Linked DNA regions of Homo sapiens: all the other regions are linked to region 2. Evidence: promoter capture Hi-C in 16 types of primary human blood cells and fetal thymus (Javierre and others, 2016). All regions are on one chromosome and are shown on one strand. The core of a region is centred on a gene start or on the middle of the fragment in contact, and the rest is flanking DNA. Distances in the headings are between cores, read along the strand shown.

Region 1 (4,332 bases), core at 1,129-3,628, 550 kb before region 2:
CTTCTAGACCCACTGGGGTGGTAACAACACCATCCCTACCAGCTTGGTGGGGTGCTTCCCATGCTGTGGCTCCCAGGAGGGGCCCCCTCTTGCTTCAGCTCTCTGTTGGGGTTGGGGGATCCTGCTGGGCCACTATGGCTTCACTGGGTGTTGGTTCCACTCTTTGCAATCGAGATGGAGGCAGACCTCTCCACCTTTGCAAACGAGGTGGAGGCCATGCACTCTGGGCCTGTGGTGGGAGTGGCAGCTCTAGTGACCTCTGAATCACCTTTGGGGTCCTTCTTTCCTTGTGTTGAAGAAAGCTGAATGTTCACATCTGAAGAATTCTATGGTCTGGTCCTGTAGGGTCTAAGAAGTCCTATAATCTTCATTTTGTCCTGTTACCTCTTTTCCTTTAGTCCTAGATAGCAGTGCTTCTGCTGGAACAATTCCATCTTTGCTTCTGGCTTTTATTGAGACGGTTGATCAAGCCCATGGTTCATATTTGTACTAATCTTCTTATCAAATAGTCACTGAGCCACATCCTTAGCATTCTGCTCCAAACAAGTTTTCTCATTTTTTTGCAATAGGGATAGGTTGGCAATTTCCCAACCCTTTAAATTCTGGTTCCTTTTTGCCTAATAACTCCATCTTCAAATTATTTCTTCCTTCACACATTTTATTATAAGCAGTCAGGAGGAATAAAGCCACTTCTTTAACAATTTGCTTAGAAATTTTCTTAGCTAAATATCCAATTTCATTGTTCACAAGTTCTACCTTCCACAAAACACTAGAACATGAACACAATTCAGCCACATTCTTTCCCATTTTATAACAAGAATGGTCTCTCCTCCAGTTTCTAATAACATGGTTCTCATTTCCATCTGAGACTTCACCAGAATGCCCTTTGCCATCCATATTTCTCTCAACATTTTACCCACGATTACTTAGGTATTCTCTAAGAAGATGGAAACTCCTCTTATCTTTCTGAGCTCCCATCAGAACCACCTTCGAAATTCCCTTCATGGAATTCTAGGCTTTTTCTAGCATGTACCTCAAAACTTTTCCAGCCTCTACCTATTACCCCGTTGCAAAGCTGTCTGCATTTTCAGATATTTGTTACAGCAACACATTGTTTTTTGGTATTTTTCTGTTCTAATGAGTTTGGGCTGTTATAACTGGGTGGCTTAAACAACATAAATTTATTTCTTATAGTTCAGGAGGCTGGGAAGTCTGAAATCAAAGTGTCAGCAGATTCAGTATCTGGTGAGGGCCTTCTTCCTGGTTTCCAGATGACCGTATTCTCACTGTACTCTAACGTGGTGGAAGAAAGCACAAGGCAGCTCTCTGGGATTCCTTTTATAAGAACACTAATTCCATTCATGAGGGTTCCACCTTCATGACCTAATCACCTCCTGCCTCCTAAAGCCATCACATTAGGGGTTAGGATAAATTGGAAGGGACACAAACATTCCATCCATTGCAGCCCTTGCCTCATGGGACTTGCCAGGTAGCAGGGGCAGGCAGATGCTCTGTAGAGGATGGAGGGATAGGAGAGCTGTTTTTTGAGGAGTGTGGAGTTTACAGGAGAAAGAAAATAGAGTAAGAGTTGAGTTAAGGAGCTGAGAAGAGAAGGCAGGGTAAAGAACAACCCAGATGCAGGGAAGAGTATGTGCCACCACTGTGTGGAGGGAGAGGGCTCAGTCGAAGCTCACTGGAGGCTGTGTGCATGGAGCTGGGCAGGGAGGCCAGGCCAGGAGGCTGAGGGGTCAGCAGGGGCCAGGCAGGCCAGGCTCTTGGGCTGCATTAGGGAAGCCACTGGATGATTCCAAATGGAGGAATCAGGGCTCCAAGGCCATTTTCAGAGATGATTCTGGGGAGATTGAATTGGAAGGGGCTGCAGAAGGGATGAGGGGCCTCTTCACAGCCATGACCAAGCTGACAAGAAGAGGGTAAGTTTCTGGTTTGGGGAAAGTGACATGATTGTCAGAAAACCAAGGGAGAAAACCCATCTACACATAAAGGAAGAAATGGTTTTAATTCATCTCTGGGGCTGGGGATGGGTCCACCCTTCTGAGATAAATTCAGGTACTATTGGTAGGGATAAGGTGGGGTGGGAACAGTGGGAAAGATGGGGGTGTATCAGTCAGGGAGGCTGGGTTATGCTGCAGTAACAAATGGCCCTAAAGCCTCCGAAGCTTAAGACAATGGTGATTGATTTTTTCCTCATATGGGACCATCCGTTGGCAGGGACTCTAACTCATGCCGTGATCCTCCTCTCTCTGTGGCCCAGATGAACAGAGCAGCTGCTCACTGTGGCGGAAGAAAAGAGAAAATAGGACTGGCTTTTATAGCTTCCACCCAGAGGAGACATCCGTCACTTCTGTTCATCTTGGGAAGGCAAGTCATGTGGCCACACCTAGCTGGAAGCCTGTGCCTGGAAGGAGAGTGAGGCAGGATACTCAAGCAGGCTTGGTGGCTTCCACAACTGGGATTGCTACCATCATAATTAGCAATCTGAGGACCACAAATGAGCTCGATGCTAGTTTTTTAGCTTCTGCTTTGGCATTTTGCAGAGCCCCAAATTTTAAGAAGCTTCCCGTTTAGGACGTGCATGCCTTCTGTTTGGCCCTGGCATCTGTTGCCTGTGTACATCATCACTCACGTTTTGTGCTGTTCTGTTTTCCTTGCCTGGCCTCTTACACCCCTGGAAGCTCCTGGGACCCTTGCATATCTTCAGTACCCAGAGAACGAGACCCTCCATTATGGGTTGAATTGTGTCTCTTTCTAAATTCATATGTTGAAGTCCTAACCCCCACTACCTCAGGATGTGCCCTTATTTGGAAATAAAGTTGTACAGATGTAACTAGTTAAGATGAGGTTGCTAGGGTGAGTCGCAATTCAGGATGACTGCTGTCCCGATAAAAAGGGGAAGCTTGAACACAGACAGGTACACAGGGAGAAAGCCATGTGAATACGAAGATGGCAGTCGACGAACCATGGAGAGAGACTGGGAACTGCAGGAAGCAGCCCTGCTGACACCTTGATTTCAGACTTCTGGCCTCCAGAACCATGAGTCAATCCATTTCCATAGTTTAAGCCACCCAATTTGGGACTTGGTTGTGGCAGCCCTAGCAAATTAACACATCCGCCAAGCGAGGGAATAATCTGAGTGGCAGAGAAGCCCTCCAGAGGGGCACTTCTTTCCTTTGCCCTGTGGACTCCAGGCTCTGTGCCTGGCAGCAAATGATACCTAATCACACTGCACTCTAAATCTACAGGGATTCTGTGGTTTCCCCCCGGCTCTCCATTTCTCTTGGCTTATCTCAGTCTCCTGTGCTGCCTCTAGCTTGATTAGCTTTACCCACATGTATTTGGCTTCATTCTTATTTTCTTTAATGTTTTGATAAGTGAGATCTCAAGCTGTGATTTTCTGTCTATGTTCCTAATCCTAATCTCTCTATTTCTTTCACCTCACTATTGTAAGAAATGTCTCCTGATTCAGTGTCCCATGTGAATTTAATTAACATGCTGCTTTTTAAGGAGTGGGTTTTGTTGACAGGGGCAAAGTGAGGTGAGGCAGAAGGGGAGACAGTAGTGTGTCAGTCAGGGAGGTTGGGTTATGCTGCAGTAACAAATATCCCCAAAGTCTTTGAGGCTTAAGTCAACTTTATTAAAATGTTACCCTCCTTGATGGTCCTGTAAATACGTGTTTGCGTGATATCAAAGAATGACAGCCTCACTTGTGGTGAGAGTGCCACTTTGCCAACTTACGCTATCCTTTGCTCTCCATCTCACATTATGGTCTTGGCTACTCTCTCAGTTGAAATTACCAAGAAGAGGGAAGGTCTCAGGTACAGCATGTGCAGAGAAGAATCTTCTCTCTGCTTGAGCTTGGAGCATAATGGTGGCTTGCACAAATCTCTGAACTACATGTTTCAGAGGAGCCATGCTGGGGTTCCCATCTCCTCAAACGAACATGGCAGGCGTAAAAGGAGCAAGGCGGGCAGGATTCAAATGGCTTAGGCAAGCAGAGGGCAGAAGATTGTTGCTTCTTGAGGGTTTCCTTTTACAACAAAAAAAATGAGTAATAAAGTTGAATTTGGGGGCAATTTGATTTGTTAAAATAAATTACTGGAAGTAATTGGATGAAGAAGGGTGCTGTTTTTAATTAGTTTAAGGGCATTGGCTGAGGAAAATCATCTTTCCCTCTCTCTTTTAAACATGGTTCTCCTCTAACTGGCACTGAAATTTTTTTTTTTTTTTTTTTTTGAGACGGAGTCTCACTCTTTCACCCAGGCTGGAGTGCAGTGGCATGATCTTGGCTCATTGCAAGCTCTGCCTCCTGGGTTC
Region 2 (4,144 bases), core at 279-2,778:
AGCATTTTTTTCCCAGGTAGACCCATTTTCACGGTGTTCCACTAACACCACCACACCCTGCTGGTCACCAGCCCCCTGGGTTAGAAGAGGCCACTGGAAAGTGAACAGCCTGCTGAAATTAAAGAGTTTTCATAAATGTGCAATTGGGTCCCACCAAGCTATTTAAAACCCATATGCATGGAACTAGTTTTCACGTTTGTATAAGACAGTCTGTAAAAGCAGAAGAGGGATGTGCATTTTCAATACATTGCCAACTTCATGTATGGAACTGAAAGACATCTGAGGTGGTGGGAGCTTCCATTATTGTTTGAATTACCATTAGGATAGATGTAAATAAGAAAAGGCTCTCTGCTGTTTTACCCAATCAAATCAATGTTCCGCTCACCTTTCATGCACCCTGGGAACCTGGCATTGAACGCTTTCTCAAAATCCTCCTCTGACATCCAGCGACCGAGCTGGCTGAGGCCTGTTTTGGGGATGGGCACTGTGTCTCTTTGCTCTTGGGTGACGATAACCGTCTTGCTTTCGATCCTGGCCACATCCCTGGGGTCAGTGAGAGCCAACCAGCTGCAAAAATCACAGGCTTCCTTTCAGCCAAGCACCACGGGCAGCGAACCATCTCCTTCAGTACCGTGGCTTTCCATGCCTAGCAGAGTGCTGAGCACGCTAACAACAGTCCATCAGTGTGAACACACAGACCATCTAAGACATGGCCAGGTGGACATTTACTCCACTAGGACCTGGTCTGTAGGAGAGGGGCTGCCTTTTTTTTAATCAGGAATCTAGTTGGCAGAGCTTTTGTGCACACACCTCATTTAAAGCTTGGGCTGGCCCACTAATGTCACAAAATTCAAGTCTGTATGGTTCTGACCATTGCATTCATCTTCTCAAGAGTCTGAAACTACCCGAAGGCCTTCATTCACCTTTCTCCACCAACTCCCAGGAGACGCAGGGGAGCCCTGCCTGCAGGGTGCTGGGACAGGCAGCGGGGGCCGAGCTTACCAGTTGTCATACTTCTTCAGCCGCCTGAGGATGCCCTCTTCCTCCATCTGGCCCAGAAGCCGCCCATTCTCCTCCTCAGAGCCGTCACAGATGTGGATGTGATCAGGCTGACACAGCTCAGCGTTATTCTCGAGAAACTCCCTCACTGCCTGGGGTAGGCTGTCCAGGCTTCCCTGGACAACTTTGGCCGAGAGGTTCAGGCCGTTTTGCAGCTGAGGAGGCATTTCTGCAGAGTGCTGCTAAGGGGCACGAATGTGAGGTCACCTGAAATAGAAAACGCAAGCGTCCTGAACAAAAACAACAACAGACACCTTCAAACACATTCGACGGCCTTTTGCCAGGGCTGTGCATTGCCAAATAGTTATTGCTCTCAGGAAAAAAATGAGTTCATCTTTGTAATTTTTCAAAATGTAAATGCAAAGCTCTACTTACCTTTCTTCTCTTTGGATGATCTCGAAGGGAGATCCACAGGTTTCTTTCCGGGCTCTTCCCGCCAGCAAGTTTGTGTTCCCAGTGGGAAGGCCGTGCTTGGTGGCAGAACCTCCCAGCTTTAAATACTGTGGAAAAGAATAGCCCTGCCCCTCAGCTGCACCCAGGGAGGCTCGCCACTGACGTCAGGGGGCAGGTCTCTGGATCACGGCCAGGGTCAGTTATGCTTTGGGCCAACTCACTGCAACACGCCCCAGGGAGATAATCATTGAACAGATAGTTGTTAATGAATGCTGGGAGACTTCGAGCCCTCAACCAACCATAGTGAGTTTTGACACAACTTCCAACTGACTAAACCTTGACCCATTTTACTGCTGTTGCAAAACACAACACCCTTTTCTTAACAGGCAGGTGGGTCAAGGACAAGGTTGGCCGGGGCACCTGCTAGCAGCACATTTTGTGTACCAAGAGCTGCTGGTTGGCAAAACACCACAGCTATAAGATGTCACCCCATAGTCAAAGGTCACAGTCAAAGTTCATGGGAAGGATGCACCCTAACTTGGGCAAATATGTGGCTTATTGGCAAAGATTGGAAATGCCTAACCTAACTGGGGGCTAATCACTGTATTGATTGTCTGCTCTGTGCCGCCCCCGCCCCCTGCCCCGATGTAAACTCCATGAGGGCAGGGATTTCTCCCTATTTTGTTCATTTTTCTCTCTGTAGTGCTTGGCATAGAGTAGGCACAGGATGCACACATGCTGAGCACTGTTCTAAGAGCTTGGCATCATTACTACCCTCTGAGGTGGAGGCTATGAACAACCCATGTACAGATAGGGAAACTGAGGCAGAGATTGTGTAGCCACTCACAGCCGGCTGGTGGGTTGCAGAGTGAGGATCTGAACATGAGCAAGTTGGGCCCTGGAGCACCACGTCTCTCCCTGTGAGGTACCGCCACCTTTCCAGAACCTTCCCTGTGTCCTCCAGGGAGTTCTGGGCTGAGTGCAGTTACTCCTGCAGTCCACTGGCCACTGTTCTCTTCCCTGGCAAGTCTTAGAGTTTAGGGAGTGGAGGGGGCTTGGCAGTTTTGCTAGATTATATGCTTAAGCAATGAAACCTTTATAACAGTTGTAAAGAATTTGCTTTGCAAGCCATCAGACCTTCAGTCAAATTTAATGAGCTATGGAAGCTGCTTGCTGGAGTTTGGAGAACACAGGGTGAAATGTCAAAAGAACGGGGCTAGGTCTCAACCCCCCACAGCCAGCCCACACTTCCATGGAAGCCTCTCTACCTAAGATGAGGTCAGGTGGGGACTTGGCCCATCTCCCCGCTGGGGTGTGGGATGATCCCTGAGATAATCCCAGGACTGGGCTTAGAAAGAGCTGCTGTGGCAAATACAAGTCACTGTGAATGGCAGCCTCCGACCAAACTCACTTAGAGAACCCTCCTGGGGGCTTGGGTCACACTGTGTTGGGCGTGGGTCACACATCATCAAGTTCCACCAAAATTATCAACCCATTGCTATGTTTCCTGTATTCAGATTTTATTCAGCCAGTTGTGTCTTTCAGGATAAATATGATATGAGGTGCTTTTTGTTTCATTTGAAGTTATTCCCCGTTTAGGTCACTGGCATTTGTTATTAGTGGTGCTGTCATCCATACATAAGATCGTGTTGTGTCTAAACCCAACAGTGACGTGATGCTCAGTAGCCGAGGCCACTTCGTTAGCATCTGACATCAGTGAATTAGCCATCCCGATGCATGACCACAATTCCGTGACACACACATCACTCCCGGCGAGACTCATCCCACCAAATTGGTAGAAAGTCCCATTTTGCTGATAAAACGGTAACAGGTTTGAGTACCTGAAAGAGCACATAGATTGAAAACAAAAAGGGAAAGCAGAACTCATTTGGAGTCCTAAATGCGACCCATCCATTCCAGGTGCTTATGTTCTGAGTCTTCTGGGAGAGAAACAGCTAGTTCAAGTAAAACGTCAGAGCAGTGAGTCACCAACGACCTTCATCCGATCCTTTCATTACCTGCATTTACAGCGTGGAAGGACGGTAATGATTCCCCCGCAACTGTCCCTTGTCAAAATGTTAAAAAGCAAACATTGGTTTACAGACTTGCCTCAAAGGACAGAGTTCTCTGGAAGAAGAATCATGATAAAGTAGAGGGGTTTTGAGGACACACAGGCAAAAGTATGGGTACAGTTGCCTTAGGTCTTGGCAGATGATGCCCTCGGGCCCCCATTTTTCCTGTCCTTAGAGACTCCCTGCCCCAGTGGGGACTCATTGACAACAATTTCAAGGGGCTGGCCGGAAGCATGGGTCTTCCTCATCTGACTGTCAGCTTATTTGTAAGTAAGCCTCAAAACTAACTACTGTCTGTTGGTTTCAACAGGGACCCGAAGAAGCAGCCAAACAGCCACCCTGCTGGTGGGATCCCTGAGGACCCCCAGTTAACCCGCCGAGTGGACTTTGCAGTGTGTGCTCAGTGGGTGGGGCATGGAGGTGGCTCACGCTGCCTGTGAGTTGCGTTAGTTGTTTCTGGGACGGATGCCATAGAGACCTCCTAGCTTTTGGGGAGCTCCTTAGGCTCAGATTTTCTTAGGTCCAAGGCTGCTCTTCTTTTGAAAAATGTATAAAAAGTTGAGCCCAGATACAAAATTGGGGAAAGAAGGAGAAAGAAAGATCGGACACTAAAATAGTTT
Region 3 (4,086 bases), core at 657-3,156, 530 kb before region 2:
GAGGACCATGGTTTTCCCTGATAGCCAGAGCTCCCCAAACACCCCCAGTGTGGGAACATCTCCCCCATCGGCAGGGAGTCCCCTACTCCTCAGAGCTGGTGCTAGCCCTGGTTGGGTATGTTCTGAGGATTCAGCGTCACGATCCCCAAACTCAGCGAATGATTAGAATCACAGGCAGAGAAATTCGAACCCAAAGATTGGATCAGTCCCTCTGGTGCAGCCCAGGGCTCGATCTTTCTCTGAAGCTTCCCAGCCAGCTTTGAGACTTCCTCTTTAGCATAAAATGGATGGTTCTATTAGATTAGAGTTGTCAGAGGTAAAACCCAGGATGCCAAGTTAAGCTTCAATTTCAGATCAACAATTTTTTTTTTAGTATAAGGATGTCCCAAATATTTAGTATACGTATGGCAGATACTCATACTAAAAATATTTGTTTATCTGAAATTTAAATGTAACTGGCATATTGTAGGTTTCTTCTTAAGTCAGATTTCTTGCATGTTTTCCCATGTGAATAGTCATTGACATGTTGAGCATTTATTGAGCACTTTCTGTGTTTCAAGCCACGTTCTAGGCCCTGAGAAAGCAGGTTCGTGGAATCCCTGCCCTGAAAGACCTTACATTCTTGTTGAGGGCAGGGAGTCCAGGAGAAAGCTGACAAAATCAGATAAATTAAAAAACAAGACAACTTCAGCTGGCGAAGGCGTTCACGAGGGGGCTCCTGGGCTGAGTTTTGGAGGAGGCAGAGTAGCTCGTCACGCAAAGCTCTTCCTGGAGAAGTCCAGGCAGAGGGAATAGTGGTCGGAGTGAAGTTGGTGTGTTCCAGGAAGGGAGGGAAAGCCAGGTGGCTGGAGCAGAGCGAGCAGAGGCCATGGTGGCCGCTACAGACTGAACATTTGTGTTCTCACTCTCCAGTTCATTTGCTGACACCTCATCCCCAGTGTGATTGCACTTGGAGGTACAGCCTTGGGAAGTGAGTACCAGAGAGCTGCCTTGCCCCTTCTACCGTGCGTGCACACAGAGAGAAGATGGCCCTTCATGAAGAATCAGGCTCTCAATAGACACTGAACCTGCCGACACCTTGACCTTGGACTTCCAGCCTCCAGAACCGTGAGAAATGTTTCTGTTTTTAAACCACTCAGCCCATGGTTTTGTTGTAGCAGTTTGAATGGACTGAGACAGGAGGGGCAGGAGGGAAGGGAACAAGATCACGTGGGCTCCTGGGTCCTGGGAAGAGGGAGCACAGAGAGGCCCCAGGATTTCCTGTGCCGTGAGAGCCACTGGAGGGCTTCAGGAGGTGACAGGTTTGGATCCGAGTTAGACAAAGTCATGCTGGCTGCAGTGGGGACATCAGTGGGAGGAGAGCAGACAGCCAGAGCTGCCTCTTTAACCGGGTGAGCAAGGCTGGTGAATTGGGCTGGGGTATAAGCCATGGAGCTCCAGAGAAGGGGAAGATTTCGATGGATGTTTTGGGGTAATGTGGGCGGAGTTGACACTGAACTGGATGTATAATAGTGGGGAGGTTAAGGGGGTTCAAGGGTGGTTCAGCCCACTCTTGGGTGGCAGGTACTGGTGCCCATTATGGTGATGGGGCTGGGGAGGGTCAGGTTTGGGACTGGGTTGGGGGCCAAGAATTCTGTATCTCTAGCCAAGGATGGCCCAGTGCAGCAAGGACAGAGACCAGGGCTGATTTGCGAAGGGAGTTGAGGGCATGATACGGAGCACACTGGAGTGCAGTCTGGGAGTTTGGGTGTGATGACACCAGAAGGACACATGGGATTCGGCTGCCCCTCTGGGTATGCTAACCCTACCCCTCTGAAGCATGATAGCAATACAATTCTGCAGCATGGCTCCCTCCAGCTCTAGGAATTTTGCAGCTCCTGTGGCTGGCCAACCACCATGAATTTTTAAAAGTAATAAACTGCCCAGGCATAGTAGCTTACGCCTGTAATCCCAGCACTTTGGGGGGCCAAGGCGGGTGGATAACTTGAGCCCAGGAGTTTGAGACCAGCCTATGCAACATGGTGAAATACTGTCTTTACAAAAAATACAAAAAAATAGCTGGGTGTGGTGCCACACACCTGTAGTCCGAGCTACTTGGGTGGCTGAGAGGTGGGAGGATTGCTTGAGCCCAGGGGGCTGAGGCTACACTGAGCCATGATCATATCACTGCACTCCAGCCTGAGAAACAGAGAGACACCCTGTCTCAAAGATAAATAAATAAGTAAATAAACAAGAACCCTGAACAGAGGGGTGGTAAGTCCTTCAGTGAAGGTAGACAGGAATTCGGGAATCCACCGTTTCCCAGAATTATTTTCTGTGGTCACTGCTATGCTGAGTGTTCTTTCTCTTCTCTTCTCTTTCTCTTTTCTTTTCTCCTTCCCTCCTTCCCTTCCTTCCTTCCTTCCTTCCTTCCTTCCTTCCTTCCTTCCTTCCTTCCTTCCTTCCTTCCTTTCTTTCTTTCTTTCTTTCTTTCCTTCTTTCTTTCTTTCCTTCTTTCCTTTCTTTTTTTCTTGAGATGGAGTCTCACTCTGTTGCCCAGGCTGGAGTGCAGTGGCACCATCTCGGCTCACTGCAACCTCTACCTCCCGGGTTCAAGTGATTCTTCTGCCTCATCCTCCCAAGTAGCTGGGATTACAGGCACTCGCCACCGTGCCTGGCTTATTTTTTTCTATTTTTAGTAGAGGGGAGTTCTGCCATATTGCCTAGTCTGGCCTCCAACTCCTGGCCTCAAGTGATCCACCTGCCTCAGCCTCCCAAAGTGCTGGGATTACAGATGTGAGCCACCGCGCTCGGCCTATGCTGTGTTTCCAATCATGAATCTTGGTGTGGGGGCAGGGATGAGAGCACCATATTTAATTTCCCTGATATCTTCTTTCAGGTTGGTCCAATGCAGGACCTGGGAAGGTAGAAAACGTCTAGGCTGATAGGTTCCCTCTTGATAAGAAGTTTCCTGTTCTTAATGGTCCATCCACTCTCTGAGCAAATAGAGAAGAATGACCTTCTCCTCTGGCTTGGAATTGGTCCTGAGAGGGAAGGGCCATTCTGAGAAAGGTCCCTGAGATGAGACCTGATACTTGAGACCATACGAAGCAAATCCCTGAAGATGTGTTCAGCTGCAGGCTGAGAACCTGAGATGAGACCTGATGCTTAAGGGCCACGCAAAGCAAATCCCTGAAGATGCATTCCACTGCAGGCCCTGGAGAATCCGCCTGCCCTGACTGCCTCACACAGCGAGGCCGTGGATAGGTGGGCTATTGGTTCTGGGCTCGGTTGCCCAGCACATCCTCAGGGATCCGGCCTTTCCTATCTTTTGTTTCACCCTTCTGAGCATATTGGCTTTCCTTCCTCATGCTTGTTGCCTCAGGGTCACATGAGGATGGCCATACCTCCAGGCATCACATCTGAGTTCAAGGTGGAAGAAAGGGGAAGAGCTGTGCTAGGCCCATCACTCCTTTAACAGAAAAAAGCTTTCCCAGAAAAGCTACCATCAGACTTTTATTAGAACTGAGTTACATGGCCACTCCCAGCTGCCAGGGAGGCTGGGAAAGAGGGAAGCAGGATCTCGGATCAGCTTAGACAGATCATGGCCCATGTGGGCCTTTACTACCCGAATCCAGCTTGGAACTTGTTCTCCAAGAAGAAGGAATCTGGATATTGGGCAGGACACTGATAATGTCTCCTCATGCATGGCACTGTCCTTAGTGCTGACCTACCAACCCTCCAGAGAGGACGGGGGTTTGCAGGTGTTACCCTGCCCTTGTAGAACACAACCCGTCTGCACATAAACGCTAGTGGGCCAGTTAGAAAGGATCCAGACCAGCTCCTTCCATGCAGCACCGCGGGTGCACATGAGTCAAATAGGAGCTACACTTAGTCAGTGCTCCCTGGGCATTAAAGTAAGATTTCATTTTCTACTCTGAAGGACCTTATGAGGTGGGCATTATTATTATTTTCATTATGCAAATCAGGATATTCTGGTTTTTCAGAATAACTTCCCCAAGGTCAAATAAATTGTAACAGGCAGAACAAGGATTAGAGTTTGCCCCCCGAGTCTGGGCTCTGAACTGCTCAGTACTGACCTCTCTT
Region 4 (3,843 bases), core at 1,110-3,609, 590 kb before region 2:
CCCGGCCACCATTACCATTTCTTGGGCAAGAAAGGAAGTTTGGAGGGAAGCAGAGGCTGGGGACCTTTCTCGCCTGAATCAAGGTTCTTGTCCTTACCCCTGCCACCCCACAGGCTCTGTCTGGTGAGTGTGGCTTTAAGAGCTGGCCCTTGCTCCTAGACAGGAGTCTCTCACAGGAGATAACCATGTTTTGGTATGTTCTGGTGCCTGGATGGTTCCTCCCTGTTTCCCATCCTCCAGGAGGGGCACCTCTCTGGTATCTAGGTGGGGGCGCTTTCTTTGGAAAGAGAATAACTGTGGTTGTGCAGAGCAGGCCCAGGGGCCCTGGTGGCAGAGGGAAAGTCCAGTCTCATGGGCCGGCAAGGGATCTGTGGGGACAGCATGTGGCTGAGGGACATTATAGACACTAAGCAGATCCCATGCCACCGTATTCTTGGGATGGAGGCAGGTGGAGGCAGGGAGTTGGCAGAATTAAAGCCCAGCTCTGGAAAAATGTCCCACCTACATCCCAGTCTCTCTTCCTCTATTCTCCGGCCAGCCCAGTGTTCTAGGCCACAGGAGAGCGAGCTCCCTAAATGTGTGCATTTCATCTGAACAATCACCTTTGTAGGCACTAATATCAAGAAAATTACGGACTCAGAGCAAATTTCTGTGTCTACAAGGTGTTCCTTGCACGATTATTCTCCCAAATCTCATGCCGGATACAACCTCAATGGCCAGGAATAGGGGGATGGTTAAATAAATTATGACAGATCCACACAGTGGAGAAAAACACAGCCATTAATATAATAGCTATTTAGAGTGCTTTTTTAAACTGCATGGAAAGATGTCCAGGGTATGTTGTTAGGTGGAAAAATGAGATTACAAAGCAGCCTGTGTAGTTTGATTTGTAAACATATACCTAAAAAGTATGTGTGTATGTGCACAAGTGTGTATATACGTATACATGAACATACATTTGAGGAATATTTGAGGGTAACATTTAAAAGCAGGGCTCTGGAATCAGACACACTTGCTGTGTGGCCAGAGAAAGGAATTCAGCTTTTTTAAGCTTCAGCTTTCCCATCTGCAAAATGGGTTTGAGGATGATAATATCCGGGGCTGCAGTGGAAGTAAGATGAGACACCCAATGTAAAGCAGTCACCACGGTGAGCGGCTAAGAGATAATAATAGCTTGAGCTGGTGGGGTGGTTACTCTTACAGGTCAAGGGATGTGTAGGAAAACCTCTGGAAGGAGCACCCCCAAAATGTTAATCATGGGTAAGAGCCTATATGTGGGTTTTAATTATATTATATTTTGGTGTATTTCTAAATATTTTTTAGCAGTGACTCTATATTGCTTTATATTTGGGGTAAAAACTGTCAACATAACTCAGTGGAGCTCATTCATTCATTCATTCATTGGGGCTCACAGATGCATACCCCCCAAATGCTCACTATGTGCCAGCTACCCCATCAGACCACGAGCATGCCAGGCAAAAGGCTGCAGCTGAACTCCTCCTGCCCTGCGGCCTTCATCTTGGGTTTTCATCTGCTCTCCCCATCAGCACGCAGAACCACCTTCTCCATAGCTGGGCAGAGGGCAGAACTCCCAGCCAAAATGACAGACCCATGAGACATATGGAGCTCAACTGTTTCTAGAGGGATCTGAGCCATGTCCGCCGTGGTGCAGGCTTCAGGTGAGAGCATCGTCTAAGGCCTCTTTTCTCTGGGTTTGGCCTGGTCACTCCTGTCCCTCTCCCCACAATCTTTTCTCCACTAGCAATGAGAGCCATCTTTCCAATAGGCAGGTCTTGCCTTTCCATGGCCCTGCTTACAACCCTCCAGCGGCTTCTCTAAATTGGACTCCAATTGCAACTCCTTCTTCTAGCCTGCCCACTTTTCCACTCACATCCCTTCTCCACCCACACCTTCTCCTCCTGCCCCCACCCTCCACCCAAGCTCCTGTCGCATCGCCTTGCCTTGCTGTTCCTGAAACATAGCAGCCTGTGTTCTATCTCAGGGCTTTCATACATGCTGTTCCCTGCGCCTAGAATACTTTTCCTAGGGCTGGTGCCTGGTCATCCTTCAGTCCTCAGCTCAAAGGGCCCCTTCCCTGACCACCCCGCCCTCTCTTATCCTGTGACACACCACCGGCCTGTTTCCTCCATGGTGCTAGCATAGCGTATCCAAATGGTGTTGATTTTCTTGGTTAATGTTGGTTCTCTAGACCCAGACATGTGGGCTGGGGTCTTGCCTTCTTGTTCATTACTGTTTTCCCAACCAAGCTGTTGCACCTTAGTAATAGCTGACTGTCATCGGCACTCTCTAAACATGCTGGGCAGCCTGCTGAACCCTGAGGGTACTCCCTGAAGTAGGTGCTTCATTAACCCCCATTGTATAAGACAGGCAGGGGAGACACAGAGAGGTCAAGCCACTTGCCCAAGACCACACAGAAGGTGAGCAGCCTATCAGCACAGGGATCTGGTGGTCTGATTCCAGAGTCCCTGCCTGGGTCTGCCCTGCCTTCCTGCCCACACCCTGGAAATGTTTGCTGAAAGAACGCATGAAGACCCCATTTTCCTGCCTTCTCTCTGCTTCTGCAGAGCAGGAGGTCATGGTGCTTGCACTTGTAGACTTTAGCCTGGCATGTTTCCCATGGCTGGGTTTGGGAAGGACGTGGACCTGGACTCTGCACCTGGCACTGCTGTGCTCTTACCTTCAGTGCTGGCTTTGCACATCTGGAGCCATCAGTTTCCACTGGGGCTTATTTCTTACTTAGGAAAATGAGTATTTTAAAAAAATGAGTATTTAAAAACGTTTCAAACCTTGATGTACTTCTCCACTGGGGTCACCGGCCGGATGCGGAAACGCTCAGGAAGCTCGATTTTGGGCTTTGGGGTGGGGAGATCTTCTTCACACTTGATCAACTGAAACAGAATCCCCAGAGATGGGAAGTCTTACGTGAAGCTGGGGGAAATGTACTGAAACAGAATCCCCAGAGACGGGAAGCCTCAGGTGAAGCTGGGGGAGTGTCCTCCCCATTGCTTCCCCTAGAAGGCGCATTTTATAGACACAGAAGTGGGGCATGGAAATGGGAGGCAGAGGCTTGTCTTAGTTACACCGTTAGGAAAGTAGGGTGGGGACCTCAACGCAGGCCTGCTGCACCCAAAGCTGAGACCCATCTCCATCCCCTCCTGCTGCTCACCACAGCCTCCTGATTTACATCCCCTGTGGGGGAATTTGAGAAAACGTTACCAGTTACGGACTCAAGTTTTAAAATGCCAAAAAGGGTTGAGTGTGGTGGCTCATGCCTGTAATCCCAACACTTTGGGAGGCCGAGGTGGGAGGATTGCTTGAGCTCAGGAGTTCAAGACCAGCCTGGGCAACTTAGCAAGACTCCATCTCTTCAAAAAATACAAAAATTAGCTGGGCATGATGGCATGTGCCTGTGGTCCCAGCTACTTGGGAGCCAAGGTGACAGGATGGCTTCAGCCTGGAGGTGGATGCTGCAGTGAGCTGAGATCATGCCACTGCACTCCAGCCTGGGTGACAGATCCAGACCCTGTCTCAAACAACAACAAACAAACTAACAAAAAATGCCAAAAAGTTTTCAGGACCGAACTTTAAAATATTAGAGGAGAGCGTCCACTCCCCTTTTTAATTTTTCAAGCAATATCAAGCTTTTTGAAAACCCAATTTAATTACATATAAAGAATATTAATATAGACTCCTTATGCATATTATATTAATAAGAACTCATTCTATGCATAAAATTTCAAACTGTGGAACCCTCTAAGAATTAAAAACACCCTCATTAAGAACAGCATAATTTCAAAGCTCGTAGGATGGGATGAATTACAA
Region 5 (4,033 bases), core at 1,036-3,535, 630 kb before region 2:
ACATGAATATTCTTTAAAAAAATTGTTTTCAACAATTTTATTGTGCACACAAACTATAATTAATTTAACCAGCTGCTGACTAATTATTTGGCCATTTCCAAATGTTTTGGTATTGGGATGAACAGAGTGTTGCACTGCTGTGTTCTGTAGGGAATCAGCCAGATGAACGTGAGGCTCTGGAGACAGGCCTGGGCTAGAGGCACAGCTGGGGAGTCACCATCACGGGTCTGGAGGAGATGGCTGGCTCCAGCAATCTGTCTTCTCCCTGTGTCCACACCCTTTGGTAACTCTGCCGTTTTCTCCCATGGACAGAGTGGTGTATATTTTCCAGCTTCTTGACTTTAGGTTTTGCCATGTGACTTACTTTGGCCCCTAGACCAAGGCAGAAAAGATAATGTGTCTGTTCCAAACCTAGGCCTTAAGGAGTCATGTGACTTGGGTTTTGGCATGTGACATGCTTTGGCCTCTAGAACAAGGCAGGAAAGATAATCTCCTGTTCCAAGCCTAGGCCTTAAGGAGCCGCCCACATTTCCACTCCTCCTGTTGTGGTTTTGCCATTGCCATGAGAAGAACCCGCCCCAGCTCTTCCGCTAGTCCAAGGAGGAGGTTGAGAGGCACACGGAGCTGACTGCCCTAGCCAGCCTCACTGTGAGCAGCTGACCCTCAGTGACCCATAAGTGCACAAACTACAGATGTGCTTGCAGTTGTCTGCCACCGAGACCCTGCAGTTTGTTAGGCAGCATGAGATGGCAGTAGCTGACTGATACAATGACCCAAGGAAGGGAGCACAACAAGGAGAGAAAAGGGCCTGCAATGGAGTCCAGAGAACTCCAGGATTTTAAGCAAAAGCAATTGAGAATTGGCCATTTCCAAGCCTAACTTAGGAAGCAGTTCAGCAGTACACAAAGAAGGAGTCCAGGAGGGTTCTTTGGAGGAAGGGGCCGTTACTGGATGGGAAGAATCTGGCCAGGTAGAGATGGGAAGGGAGGGGCTCCAGGTATGTGTGTAGCATGCCTGGAGCGTGGAGAGGGGCTGGCTCTGCACACTGCACTGGGACTAAGTTCTTTCCCCTCTGGACTTGTCCCCGAGGTGGGGACGCATCTCTGCTTCTGCTCTGCTTAGAGGACAGGGTGCTCACAGACTCAGGTAGGGTGCTCGAGGGCCCCCAGGCCAGCAAAGGAATCTAATTCCTGGCTTTGTGTCTGACTGTAACCCAGCAGAGGCTAGTGGCCTGGTGGTGGGAGGCCCAGTCTCTGAAATTCAGAGCCTGGCTGGGAACCCTGTCCCACGTCTCACAGGAGCAGGGTGTGTCCGCAGACAGTGACTGGGCTAGGACATGCCTTGCTTTTCCTTGCCATACCCCCTTCCTCTGGGGACATCTTGGGCAGACTCCGAGGTCTCCAGTCACACTCAGTTGTGAAGACATCTATGTGACTGGAACTCAAAACGTAAAGCTCACGTCCAGCTCACAGCTTCTGGGAGAGGGTCCCCAGACCAGGCCAACTGGATGCCAGGGTCCTGCCATTGGGATGATGGCCTGTCTTCCACCCTCCTTGCTCTGCTACCTTCTCCGCCTGTGCTCCTGGTCTGGCAGGGTCAGGGCTGGACAGGGGTGAGAAGGAGCGGGGCCAAGGTCTTTTCATGTGGCTGGCGGCATGTGTGGCTCTCCTTCGGCTGTTGAGCGCCTTCTGCCCCCTCGGGCATGGAATGCTGTTCCTGCATGGGGAACACTCATGGGGTTTCTTTGAACCCCCACTCCCAACCTCATTCCTTTCTAGGTCCAGTTTTATTCCCCCTCTGCAAGGAAGAATTATGAATGTCACTGATGGGACCTGCACTTTGCACTTTTTGCACCAACCTTTGGGTACAAATAGGGCCACATTGATAGCCTAGATGTCACCCAGTCTTGTCCTGGTCATTTACTTTCCCGGGATCCCAGAAAAGCCCCCATGTCCTCTCCACCCCAGGCATTTCTAGCGGGGGTCACACAAGTGCTCATAAATGGGTCTGTTGGCCACCACTGCCCTCTGCTGGTGTCCCTGGGCACTGCTGCAGCGGCCCCATCCCTGGGTTGCAGGTGAGGGGTGAACAAGACCCCAACTTCCCCGTGATGCTGTCAGGGTCTCCAGCAGGGCCGACTGCTGACTCTTACAGATTGCTTAGGAAGGGTGCCATTTCCCATGTGACCTGCTCTCTTGGATACAGACATGACTTTTTCCTCATTAATGATGAGGGTGACTTCTAGCGCCATGACCAGCTTGGAGCTAAAACCTTCACTCACATCCATCTTCACTGAGTGCTCACACACCTGTGAGGGGGACCGCCATCTCCACACTTTACAGGAAGAGACCCTGAGGCTCACGGGAGCTCAGGGGAGCTAGAATTTGAATCCGATTTGTCCAATGCATCCAGATATGGCTGAATCGTGGTTGGGTGCCAGGGTGTGTTTCTGCATGTGTCTCTGTGCATATCTCCGTGTGTTAATGCATGCATGCATGTGAGTCTGGGTGCATGCATGTCTGTGTGTGCCGGGATGTGCTTCTGGGCATGTGTGCGTGTTTATGTGTGCATGTGTCTGCGTGCGCGTGTGCATATCCTCTTTCACCCACAGAGTGGTATCAGTGAAGACTTTTGAACTCAAAAAAGAAAATCCTACAAAGCAAAACTGAGGAATGAAGGAGCTGTTGTAGGATCTCATGGTCACTTTCTGGGCGAAGGTCCCCTGAGTTCTGCAGTTGGGATTGGGATCCTCTTTGCACACTCCCCTGAAGACCCCAGCTTCTCCTTTGTGGCACCTGTCACTCCTGTCTCTGACTGACACTCTGTGCAATTATTTGTCTAGTGACTGTGACCTCTGCTCGGTTCTGCTGGCTGTGGATCAGGGACTGTGTCTTTCTTGTCCGAGTGAGTGAATGACTGACAGAAATTCTCTGTATCACTCAGGACATCTCTGGGTGTAACTGACAGAAAATCAGCTCAAACTGGCTTAAGTGCAAAGAGGGCATTGCTGGCTCAAGACACTGAAAAGTTCATGGTCCCCTGGGTTTAGGGGCTCCAGGGAGTCAGATGATAGAATCAGGTTGTTCTCTCTCTTTCTCTCTTATCTCCACTGTCTCTGCATTTATCTGTGTCTTCCTCTTTTCCTGCAGACAGGTCCTTCCATGTGTCAGGGAACAATGGAGGCAGGAGCTCTAGCTTATGTGGTCTTCATAGCTTAAGACCCCAGAGAGAAGGAGAAAGTCTCTCCTGGCATCAAATCTCAGCGAAGTCCCTGATTAGCCAGTTTGGGTCACATGCACATCTTAGAACCAATCCCTGTGGCTCTGTAGGATGGAGGGTTTTTTTTTTTTTTTTTTTTTTTTTTGAGACGGAGTCTCGCTCTGTCTCCCAGGCTGGAGTGCAGTGGTGCGATCTCGGCTCACTGCAAGCTCCGCCTCCCGGGTTCACGCCATTCTCCTGCCTCAGCCTCCCGTGTAGCTGGGACTACAGTCGCCCGCCACCTCGCCCGGCGAATTTTTTATATTTTTAGTACAGACGGGGTTTCACCGTGTTAGCCAGGATGGTCTCGATCTCCTGACCTCGCGATCCGCCCGCCTCGGCCTCCCAAAGTGCTGGGATTACAGGCGTGAGCCACCGCGCCCGGCCAGGATGGAGGATTCTAACTGACCAGACTGGTTCTTGGCACGTGCATGTGTTGGGGGTGGAGTCCTATGACTGACACATGATTGCAGGAGTGGGGCTGACTGGAGTTGGAAAGGTGGTTTTCTGAAGGAAAGTATTGAGCAGAAAGCATGTGTATTTCTTCTCATTACATTATTTTAGAATTAAAAAGGCAACAACATCTTTTTCTTTTCCTAGATTGACCTAGTTTGGAAACCAAATTTAATGTGTAGCTTTTATCTAACTTTGAGAACATTTGGTAGTATATGGAACTTGAAACAAAGCAAAATAAACAAAAAGGTAGAATTTGACAGTAATTTTGTAGTCACTGCATTTTAGCTTTTAGCTGTCCATGCACTAAATGAGTATATGT
Region 6 (4,120 bases), core at 1,123-3,622, 570 kb before region 2:
AAGAACCCACGAATTAATTGGCATCCTGAGTGTTCAAAATGTTTGCAGAAATCAGGACAAGGCGGGAGCAAAACAAGGCCCTATCTTTGTGTCTTTGTCTTCCCTTCCTCCCTCCTTTAGGGTTTCTTGCTCACAGCCGTGAATGCTGCAGACCCAGGGAAGGTGCCCACCATACCTGGGCCCTCACAGCCCTCATTGAGCTGCTCCCCAGCTCAGCTATGCACAGTGGAAGCAGGAGAAATATAAAGACCCAACTTCGTGTTCCTTGGCTCCTGTGGATTTAAGTGAAACTCTTAGTGTTACTTCAGAGTAGATTTTTTTTTTGGGAGATGGTGAGGTGGGGTGGGTATATTTTATGCAAAGCCTGTTTCAAATCAGAGAGAGCATTTCCCCCCTTCTTCCTCTCCCATGAAAGGCAGGAGGTCTAAGACATTTTAATAGCTTTCATATTCCTTGCTCCAAATATATTATTTCAGCACAATAGTTTCTTTGCTTAAATGATTCAAAATGGATTTAAAAATATATTTCAAGTTTTAATTTTATGCACAGCACATTAATGAGCGGAGTGCCTTAGAGACTGCCTGTCAGTTCAACATATTCACAATATTCTCAGCACAGATGTTATTCCATCTAAATCCTTTTAGGGGGAAGAAACCAGTACTTTTTTTCTTGGGGGATGTCAGAAAATATATTATTTTTGAAATTATATTTTGATCCCAGAATTCTACACAAAATGTCATTGTTAGGGTCTGGGTTTGTCAAGTGACTTGGACACCAAACTTTTAAAAAGTGGGGGAAGGAAAAAGCAGCCCAGGATGTTGGATTTGTTTCTCGCCGTTGCCTTCTCTGGACGAGGACTTCGCGCTGCAACACACAGGATGAGACATGATGAAAACTTTCCTGAGCTGTGCACTTGGAAGCTTCAACATCTTTTAAACAATGGCAAAAAATTGGAAGGAACTGGGTTGGATACAAAAACATTTAGAAAGAGTGGCTCTCATTTTTTGTTTTGTCTGCTGGAAGACGCAAACTCTCATAGTTAATGCAGCCTTATCCCCTTTGGTTCTCAAATGATGAATCAGGCTCAGTCATTTTTGTGTATGTATTTGCAACACTCACGGCCGGGAGCGCTGAGTTCTTTTGTTTGTAAATACCTACTTGGGAGAGGTGCAGATTCAGAGCCGAGTATTTTCCTCCAGGGTGGGGCCGGCAGTGTATTGCCTTACTCTTGCACTGAGCAGTGAGAAGGGGTTGGAGCCGACAGGTGAGCTCCAAGTGCCCCCGTAAGCTGGGTGGTCATGGGTGAAAGAATTAATCTCTCTGAATAGTTGTCTGTAGAATGGGGGGATGACAGGAGTGCAGGCACAGCACAATGCCTGGGACATGGTCAAAGTCCCGTGAACTTGACCCCTTTTATCTGCGCTGTCAACGTTTTCCTCCCTCTGTCCTTCCTGACAGCGATTTCCCACCTGCAGTCCTGTGCATAGTAGAACGCTCAAAGAGAGAGCTCCACCTCACTTTGTCTGCAAGAATCAGCCAGAGCTGACTCTTATTCAAACTGGCACCACATCCGCGGGGTTCTAGCAAGAATTGCTGGGCTCCTAGCCAGGTAACTGGCTGAGAAGTGCTCACTCTATAGAGCCCCCACCGCCTCCCTGCTGGCTTACCTGAGGGGGCTTGGCAGAGTTGCTGAGCTCAGGGAGGTGGGGCTTCTGGAGTTTGAGACTTGGTCCTCTCCTCCCACTGCCTTCCCTGGCCACCAGTTCAGGGAGGCTGTGAGCAGAAGAGGTCCAAGTGACAGAGGTACCCTCAGCCACTTTCTGTTTCAGATGCTGGCATAGCTTAGCTTTTGATATACAAGAAAGAGACAATTTAAAAGATCCCTCCCTCCCTTTAAAAAAAAGACCTTATTTTTTTAAGAGCAGTTTCAAGTTCACAGCAAAACTGAGTAGAAGGTGCAGAGATTTTCCATAAACCCCCTGCCTCCACACAGGCACGGCCTCCCTCACTATCAACATCCCCCACCAGAGCGGGACACTCGCCTCCCTAATTGTGTTTGTTTTTGTCTTTTGCGCATCTTTTCTTTGTTTTGTGCCTCCTTAGTGTGGCCATAGAGTTGGAACCATACAGTGTGTGCTTTTCAGACTGACTTCTTTCACTTAGTAACATGCCGTCGGTTTCCTCCACATCTTTTCCTATCTCGATAGCTTGTTCCTTTCTTAGTACTGAATAAAATTCCAGTGCCTGGATGTACTACAGTTCATCCATTCACCAACCCAAGGACATCGCGGTGGATTCTAAGTTTTGGCAATTATGATGAAAGCTGCTCTAAACAAATCCTCTGGGTAAATATCAGGGAGCACAATTGCTGTGTGGTATGGAAAGAATATGTGTAACTTTGCAAGAAGCTGTGAAACTGTCTTCCAAAGTGGCTGCACCATTTTGCATTCCCACCAACCAGGGGTGAGAGCTCTCGGTACTCCAATCCTCACCAGCATCTGGTGGTGCCGCCTCCCCCCACTTTTTTTTTTTTTTGGACAAGGAGTTTTTTTTTTTTTTTTTTTAAAGACAGAGTCTCGCTCTGTCGCCCAGGCTGGAGTGTAGTGGCACAATCTCGGCTCACTGCAACCTCCGCCTCCCAGGTTCAAGCAATTCTCTTGCCTCAGCCTCCTGAGTAGCTGGAATTACAGGCGCTCGCCACCACACCCAGCTAATTTTTGTATTTTTAGTAGACACAGGGTTTCGCCATGTTGGCCAGGTTGGTCTCGAACTCCTGACCTCAAGTGATCCACCCGACTTGGCCTCCCAAAGTGCTGGAGTTACAGGCATAAGCCACCACACCTGGCCACCTTTTTAATAATAAAATATTTTATTTTTTAAATTATTGAAATAATGCATACTCAAATAAAAATATAATCTTAGAGTTCCTATGGAAGAAGAGATGCCCTCAGAATAGCTAGGAAATGTGGAAAATGAGAAGAGTGATGGAGGATTTACCTATCCAGGTATTAGTATAGGCTCTAAAGGTCCTGTAACCAAGTCAGTTTTGGTGTCGTGACAGGGACTAGATTAGTGAAGCAGGAAGTGAAGTGGAACTGTCCTTATAACTCAGAAGGTATATACGGAGAGAGCTGATGTTCAAGACAGGAGGATGGATGAACCCTTTGACAAATGGGAGAACATGAAAATGGAACCAATGGTCCATGGATACAGAAATCAACTCTAGAGGAATTAAATACTTACAAGTAACACAATAATCATAATAGTATTGCAAGAAATGTGTGATACTGCAGTTACAATCTAGGGGCCAGGGAGACTGGAAACCCAGAAGCTATAAAGAAAAGATGGATTTTTTATTTTATTTTATGAAGTTGAGAAGTTTTGCCTGCCCAAGAGATCACAAAGGCAATAAACAAAAGGCATTCCAAGAAAAACATTTATAACCAAGAAGTCAGACAAAGGGTTAACTTCTATGCAATACAAAAATTCAAATAATCCAGATGTGTTTAAAGCGAAATGTGAATGTGTTCCCCCTGCCTGCAAGCCCCTTCCCTGGGGGAGATCACTTTTAATGGTTTGATGAATTTCCTTCTGGATGCTTTTTTTCCCCGTCATGCTGCAAAAGGAATTAATTTTAGTTTTCCTCTGAGCTGCAGCGCTGGGAGAGCGGGAGAGCCAAGCTGCCTTTATTTTTATCGATTGCCCTTTTCCCCAAACCTGCCATTTGCATCTCACCTGCCATATCGTGCCATTATTTACTTAATCCTTTCTTTTACATTTACACACTTTTGAAAACATACAGTTATTTTAAAAAGGAAGCTTCAAGTCATGACCATAAGTGAAAAACCAGTGCCATTTGACCTATGTGGAAGGCAATGGTCATAAAAATAATGAAAGCTGATGTTACGAAATTCCAGTTTGGTGCTGTAGCTGCTCACTCTCTCTATTAAAAAGGGTGGTGGCAGCACTGGGGAGGTGCTGAAAATTGACTAGTCCCCACTGGGGACTCTCCTGGGCCAAGCAAAGGACTAAAAAGGAATAGCTCTGTCAGCGTGTGTATCTGTGGTTTTGATGCTACGTGTACCTCACAAATCACCTTGTGACCCCCCAGTTTGGGATG
Region 7 (4,032 bases), core at 583-3,082, 610 kb before region 2:
TTTGAGACCCACGTCTGTACAACATCCCACAAACTCAACTCTCGGGTGTCTTGCAACCTGAAGCCAAGGCCTGGGCCTCTATTTCAAAGGCTTGGCAGGAAATTCAATGTATCTGATGGATTTATGCATTTATTATTTCTTTAAAAACTTCTCTAAAGCCGAAGTAATACAGGACAGTGCATGCGCGATTGTGCAGCCCCAGGAGCGTTCACAAACTGAACACATCTGTGCCGCCGGCATCCAGATTCAGAAACAGGAAGTGACCAGCACAACCCCCTTCATGCCCCTCCCAACCACCACCGCACAACGACCCCACCATCCTGGCTTCTGTAGCATTGATCAGATTTGTCTGTTTCTGCACTTTATATAAATGGAATCATACAGCCTGTTCTCTTTCGTGTCTGGCCCAACATTCTGCAGATTTATTTTTATCTCTGATCCCACCAGAGCAGTTTTCCCGAGGCTGGGAGAGATAAGCAGGTCTCCCGGGTGGGGACCGCCGGTGGAGTGACGACCAGGTGACCCGATGGGCACCGTGGATGATGGAGATCTACCGCGGCAAACCGGTGCCTCAAGGGCCTGTCCTGGCCCTGCACTGTGTTGAATTTCACCCGTGCAGTGGGTAAAATATATTCCAATATGTGTATCAGAAATTGGGAAAAATATGTAAAAGAATAATTTCACGCACATCACCCAGAGTTGACAACAGTCATGTTTTTTGAGGTGAAATTAACATGACATAAAATGAACCGTTTTAAAGTGCACGATTCAGGGTCCTTTAGCACTTTCACCATGTTATACAGCCATCGCCTCTATCTCTGCGTCTAGCTCCTGTTCGCTGCCCAGCCCCTGACAACGGTGAATCTGCTTTCTGTTCCTAAGGGTTGATTCCTTCTGGATTTGTATCAACTGGACCATGCAATAGGTGACCTTTTGTGTTTTCTGGCCTCTTTTCCGAGCTTATCCACGTTGTAGCGTGTATCACGACTTCATTCCTTTTAGTGGCTTCCAGTCATTTTTGCTTCGTGTCATTTTTTTTAGAAAAATAAAGAAATGAAACATTACTGGTAAACTCGATGAGTCTGCTGTTCTATAGGGTCACTTCTGTTCCCCAGCTTCATCTCTGGGGGAAACAACAGTCATGAAATTTGTCCTTCAGAGTGTTTTTTTTGTTTCTTAAATTGGGAATTATATGACAAGATGAGAATGTGTTTCCATCTTCTTTGGGCAAATCAGAAGGTCAGACTGTACTGGAGCCCCGCCCCACGGCAGCCATTGGCTGCAGCTTCCTGGCCCCGCCTCTCAGGTGGGCTTGAGTTCTGCCCACGGTCCTGGCCCCACGGCCCCACGGCCCCACGCGGCCCAATTCACTTGTCTGCCGCTTCCTTCCCAGCCTCTGAGTTTTAATCCCTAAAGGATTTCACAGTCCAGGGCTCCCCAAACACTTGTCTGTGCCCCACAGCAGCCTCTGCTGAAGTTTCCTCTTTTTGCAGATATATGAAGAAAATAAAGTCATCACGTCTTTTCCATCAAGATCTGATTTAAGGGTGAGCCTCTATTCTGAGATACCATTTCCCTACCTTCTCAGTTAAAAATGTTCTTTTTTTTTTTCTTTTCCATTTTTTTTTTTTTTTTGAGACAGAGTCTTGCTCTGTTGCCCAGGCTGGAGTGCAGTGGCGTGATCCAGGCACACTGAAGCTTCTGCCCCCTGGGTTGAAGCAATTCTCCAGCCTCAGCTTCCCGAGTAGCTGAAATTACAGGTGCACACCACCACGCCCAGCTAATTTTTGTATTTTTAGTAGAGACAGGATTTCGTCATGTTGTTCAGGAGAGCTCAAACGATCCACCCCCCTTGGCCCCCCAAAGTGTTGGGATTACAGGCGTGAGCCCACCTTGCGCGGCCCAAATGTTCTTTTATGAGATAATTGTGACAGTGAATGAATGAGCCTAGGGGTGCTCAAGCTTTTTCTGTAAAGGCCCAAAGTAAATATTTTCAGTTTTACAGGACCCGAAGTATCTGTTGCAACTACTCAGCACTGTTGTAGCGCCAATGGTAGCCACAGACAATATATACAACAAGCAACAGGCTGTGTGCTGGTAAACCCTAATTTACAAAGAGGTTTTGGGCCGACTGTGGCCGTTGGGCCATCGTTTGTCCGCTGTTGATCTAATAGATGGTAGTGGTGGATATATACTTTTAAGTGTTCTTTACTGGCAAAACCCAAAATTTAGCAATGGTAGAAGTTACTTGTCCCTGTGGTAGATATTACGAGTGCTGATGAAGATTTCCTGTCCCCTTGAAGTTAGGCAAGGTCAGGTGACTTGCTCTGGGCTATGAGATATGAGTAGAAACAACACGTCACCTCCAGGCTGAAGCATTTCCAGGCTGGTGTGCACTGCAAACAACAACAACATCCACCATGGCCCACACAGTCTGCCATCACGGCTGTCTCTACCAGAGGTGTGCATCACAGTGTCACAATGCCTGTTCTTTCACAGAGATGATGGTGCTGGAGGTGGGTGAAGCAGAGAGTTATGCTGAAGGATGGTTGGGGAGGTGGGTGGGGCAGAGGGAGCCGAGACTTGTGCATGGGCTGGGTGGTGAATGAATGCTCTGGTCACTGACTTGCCTGTGAATGTGATGAGGAGCAGAGGTGTGTTGGAGTCGGTGTGGGGGTGGATGGGGCGGGGAGATGCCTGCTGGAATCGAGAGTTTCATTTTTGACATGTCAGGTCTGAGATGCCTTTTAGAGATCCAAGTGGAGAAGTCACAAAAGCAGTTGAAAATATGAGTTTATTTCAGAAATTATCAATTGGAGGCTGCTGGCTTATTGGGTTTAACTTGCATAGTATTTGTTTATTTATTAAATACTATTTATTTATTGAGACAAGGCCTTGCTCTGTTGCCCAGGCACGTGCAGTCGCACGATCATAGTTCACTGTAGCCTCGACCTCCCTGGGCTCAGGCGATCCTCCCACTTCAGCCTCCCAAGCAGCTGGGATTACAGGTATGCACCACCACACCCTGCTATTTTTTTGGTATTTTTTGTGGAGATGGGGTTTCACTGTGTTGCCCAGGCTGGTCTCAAACTCCTGGGTTCAACTGATCCTCCCGCCTCAGCCTCCCAAAATGTTAGGATTACCGGCATGAGCCACGGCGCCCGGCTTACTAATAATTAAAAACATTAAACATTTAAAAGACATTTTAAAATCGGGAGATTTTACATTTATAAAGTCCAAATTGTTCGGCTTCCTTTGGAAGCTGGAAAGATCTGGCTGTGCTGTCCCCTGCTTCCCCAGGCAGTGACCCGTGGCGCTGAGGGGCAGCTGCCCTCTCAACAGGACATGGGTTCTACAGACGCCATTGTCTCTGCCATGCCCTTCAGGATCCTTGATCGTGAATTTACGTGTCTGTTACCATTTATTGTTTTGTTCAGGATTCAGCTTTCCTTGTAGTAGAGAGAAATCTTGACTCCTTCTCCACACCCATGTCTCCACTGAATGCTGGAATAAAACAGTGCAAGAGAGGCATATTTTAAAGAAAGGAGAACGGCATATACTTTTTCTTGCACTTGCTGTGTGTTAGAGGATAACCCCTGCCGTAGCAGCCAGCAGATGAATTTGAACTGCTGCCTGGGAGTGCAGCTGCCACCTGGTCTCTGCACCCCCGAGATCGGGATGGGCCCGGCACCATCTTAGTAGTTCTCTGGCTTTCGTTGGTGCAAGTATTGGAATGTGCTTTGTATTTTTGAATAATTATTTATAAAAATGAGTAGGGAAAACAGGAAATTGCTAAAACCAGAGATGATAAGTAAAGGTGTCTCACACCACTGTTGTCGTAACCACGATGAATGTCATTGTACAACAAGGCGCATCCGTGGCCCATGTGGATGCTCAAGGGAGGCAAATCCAATGGCTTCCTGTTTAGTCTTCAGATTCAGCACCTCTAAAGAACAGGTGTTGAGCTGAAACATGGCACTCACTATTACATCTAAGGCAAGGGGAATGAGGAACTTCGTAAAAATGTTTTCT

The links. The method cuts DNA at HindIII sites, captures the fragments that hold promoters and counts their contacts. A CHiCAGO score of 5 or more calls a contact.
Region 1: a contact is called between a fragment that was not itself captured here and the fragment with the promoter of PCK1 in region 2, in 1 of 17 cell types (M1 macrophages). The highest score is 5.1, in M1 macrophages.
Region 3: a fragment that was not itself captured here is called in contact with the fragment with the promoter of PCK1 in region 2 in 2 of 17 cell types (M0 macrophages and M1 macrophages); the score reaches 6.0 in M0 macrophages.
Region 4: a fragment that was not itself captured here is called in contact with the fragment with the promoter of PCK1 in region 2 in 6 of 17 cell types (M1 macrophages, endothelial precursors, naive CD8 T cells and 3 more); the score reaches 7.3 in M1 macrophages.
Region 5: a contact is called between a fragment that was not itself captured here and the fragment with the promoter of PCK1 in region 2, in 1 of 17 cell types (endothelial precursors). The highest score is 5.9, in endothelial precursors.
Region 6: a contact is called between a fragment that was not itself captured here and the fragment with the promoter of PCK1 in region 2, in 6 of 17 cell types (M2 macrophages, endothelial precursors, naive B cells and 3 more). The highest score is 6.6, in M2 macrophages.
Region 7: a fragment that was not itself captured here is called in contact with the fragment with the promoter of PCK1 in region 2 in 5 of 17 cell types (endothelial precursors, total B cells, M1 macrophages and 2 more); the score reaches 6.9 in endothelial precursors.

The regions. Positions count from the first base shown.
Region 1 is chr20:58,105,126-58,109,457 of GRCh38, reverse strand. No RefSeq gene overlaps it. Among named protein-coding and RNA genes, the nearest start is that of CIMIP1, 44 kb to the left of the region's middle. The HindIII fragment of the contact is 397 bases long and covers 2,180-2,576 here.
Region 2 is chr20:57,558,494-57,562,637 of GRCh38, reverse strand. It overlaps PCK1 (phosphoenolpyruvate carboxykinase 1), which reads right to left and starts at 1,528. Exons shown (of 10, transcript NM_002591.4): 1 at 1,435-1,528; 2 at 1,003-1,266; 3 at 386-567. The coding sequence starts at 1,226. The HindIII fragment of the contact is 6,047 bases long and covers 824-4,144 here.
Region 3 is chr20:58,087,961-58,092,046 of GRCh38, reverse strand. No RefSeq gene overlaps it. Among named protein-coding and RNA genes, the nearest start is that of CIMIP1, 61 kb to the left of the region's middle. The HindIII fragment of the contact is 3,126 bases long and covers 344-3,469 here.
Region 4 is chr20:58,154,534-58,158,376 of GRCh38, reverse strand. CIMIP1 (ciliary microtubule inner protein 1) reads right to left here. Exons shown (of 4, transcript NM_178456.3): 3 at 2,808-2,909. LOC107985434 (a long non-coding RNA gene) reads left to right here. Exons shown (of 3, transcript XR_001754692.2): 2 at 1,548-1,679. Among named protein-coding and RNA genes, the nearest start is that of CIMIP1, 5.6 kb to the right of the region's middle. The HindIII fragment of the contact is 2,611 bases long and covers 1,054-3,664 here.
Region 5 is chr20:58,190,773-58,194,805 of GRCh38, reverse strand. No RefSeq gene overlaps it. Among named protein-coding and RNA genes, the nearest start is that of ANKRD60, 36 kb to the left of the region's middle. The HindIII fragment of the contact is 5,377 bases long and covers 1-4,033 here.
Region 6 is chr20:58,133,042-58,137,161 of GRCh38, reverse strand. LOC107987284 (a long non-coding RNA gene) reads right to left here. Exons shown (of 3, transcript XR_001754693.2): 3 at 3,335-4,120. The region is part of intron 2 of LOC107985434 (a long non-coding RNA gene); the gene reads left to right. Among named protein-coding and RNA genes, the nearest start is that of CIMIP1, 16 kb to the left of the region's middle. The HindIII fragment of the contact is 2,899 bases long and covers 923-3,821 here.
Region 7 is chr20:58,170,551-58,174,582 of GRCh38, reverse strand. The region is part of intron 2 of LOC105372694 (a long non-coding RNA gene); the gene reads left to right. Among named protein-coding and RNA genes, the nearest start is that of CIMIP1, 22 kb to the right of the region's middle. The HindIII fragment of the contact is 264 bases long and covers 1,701-1,964 here.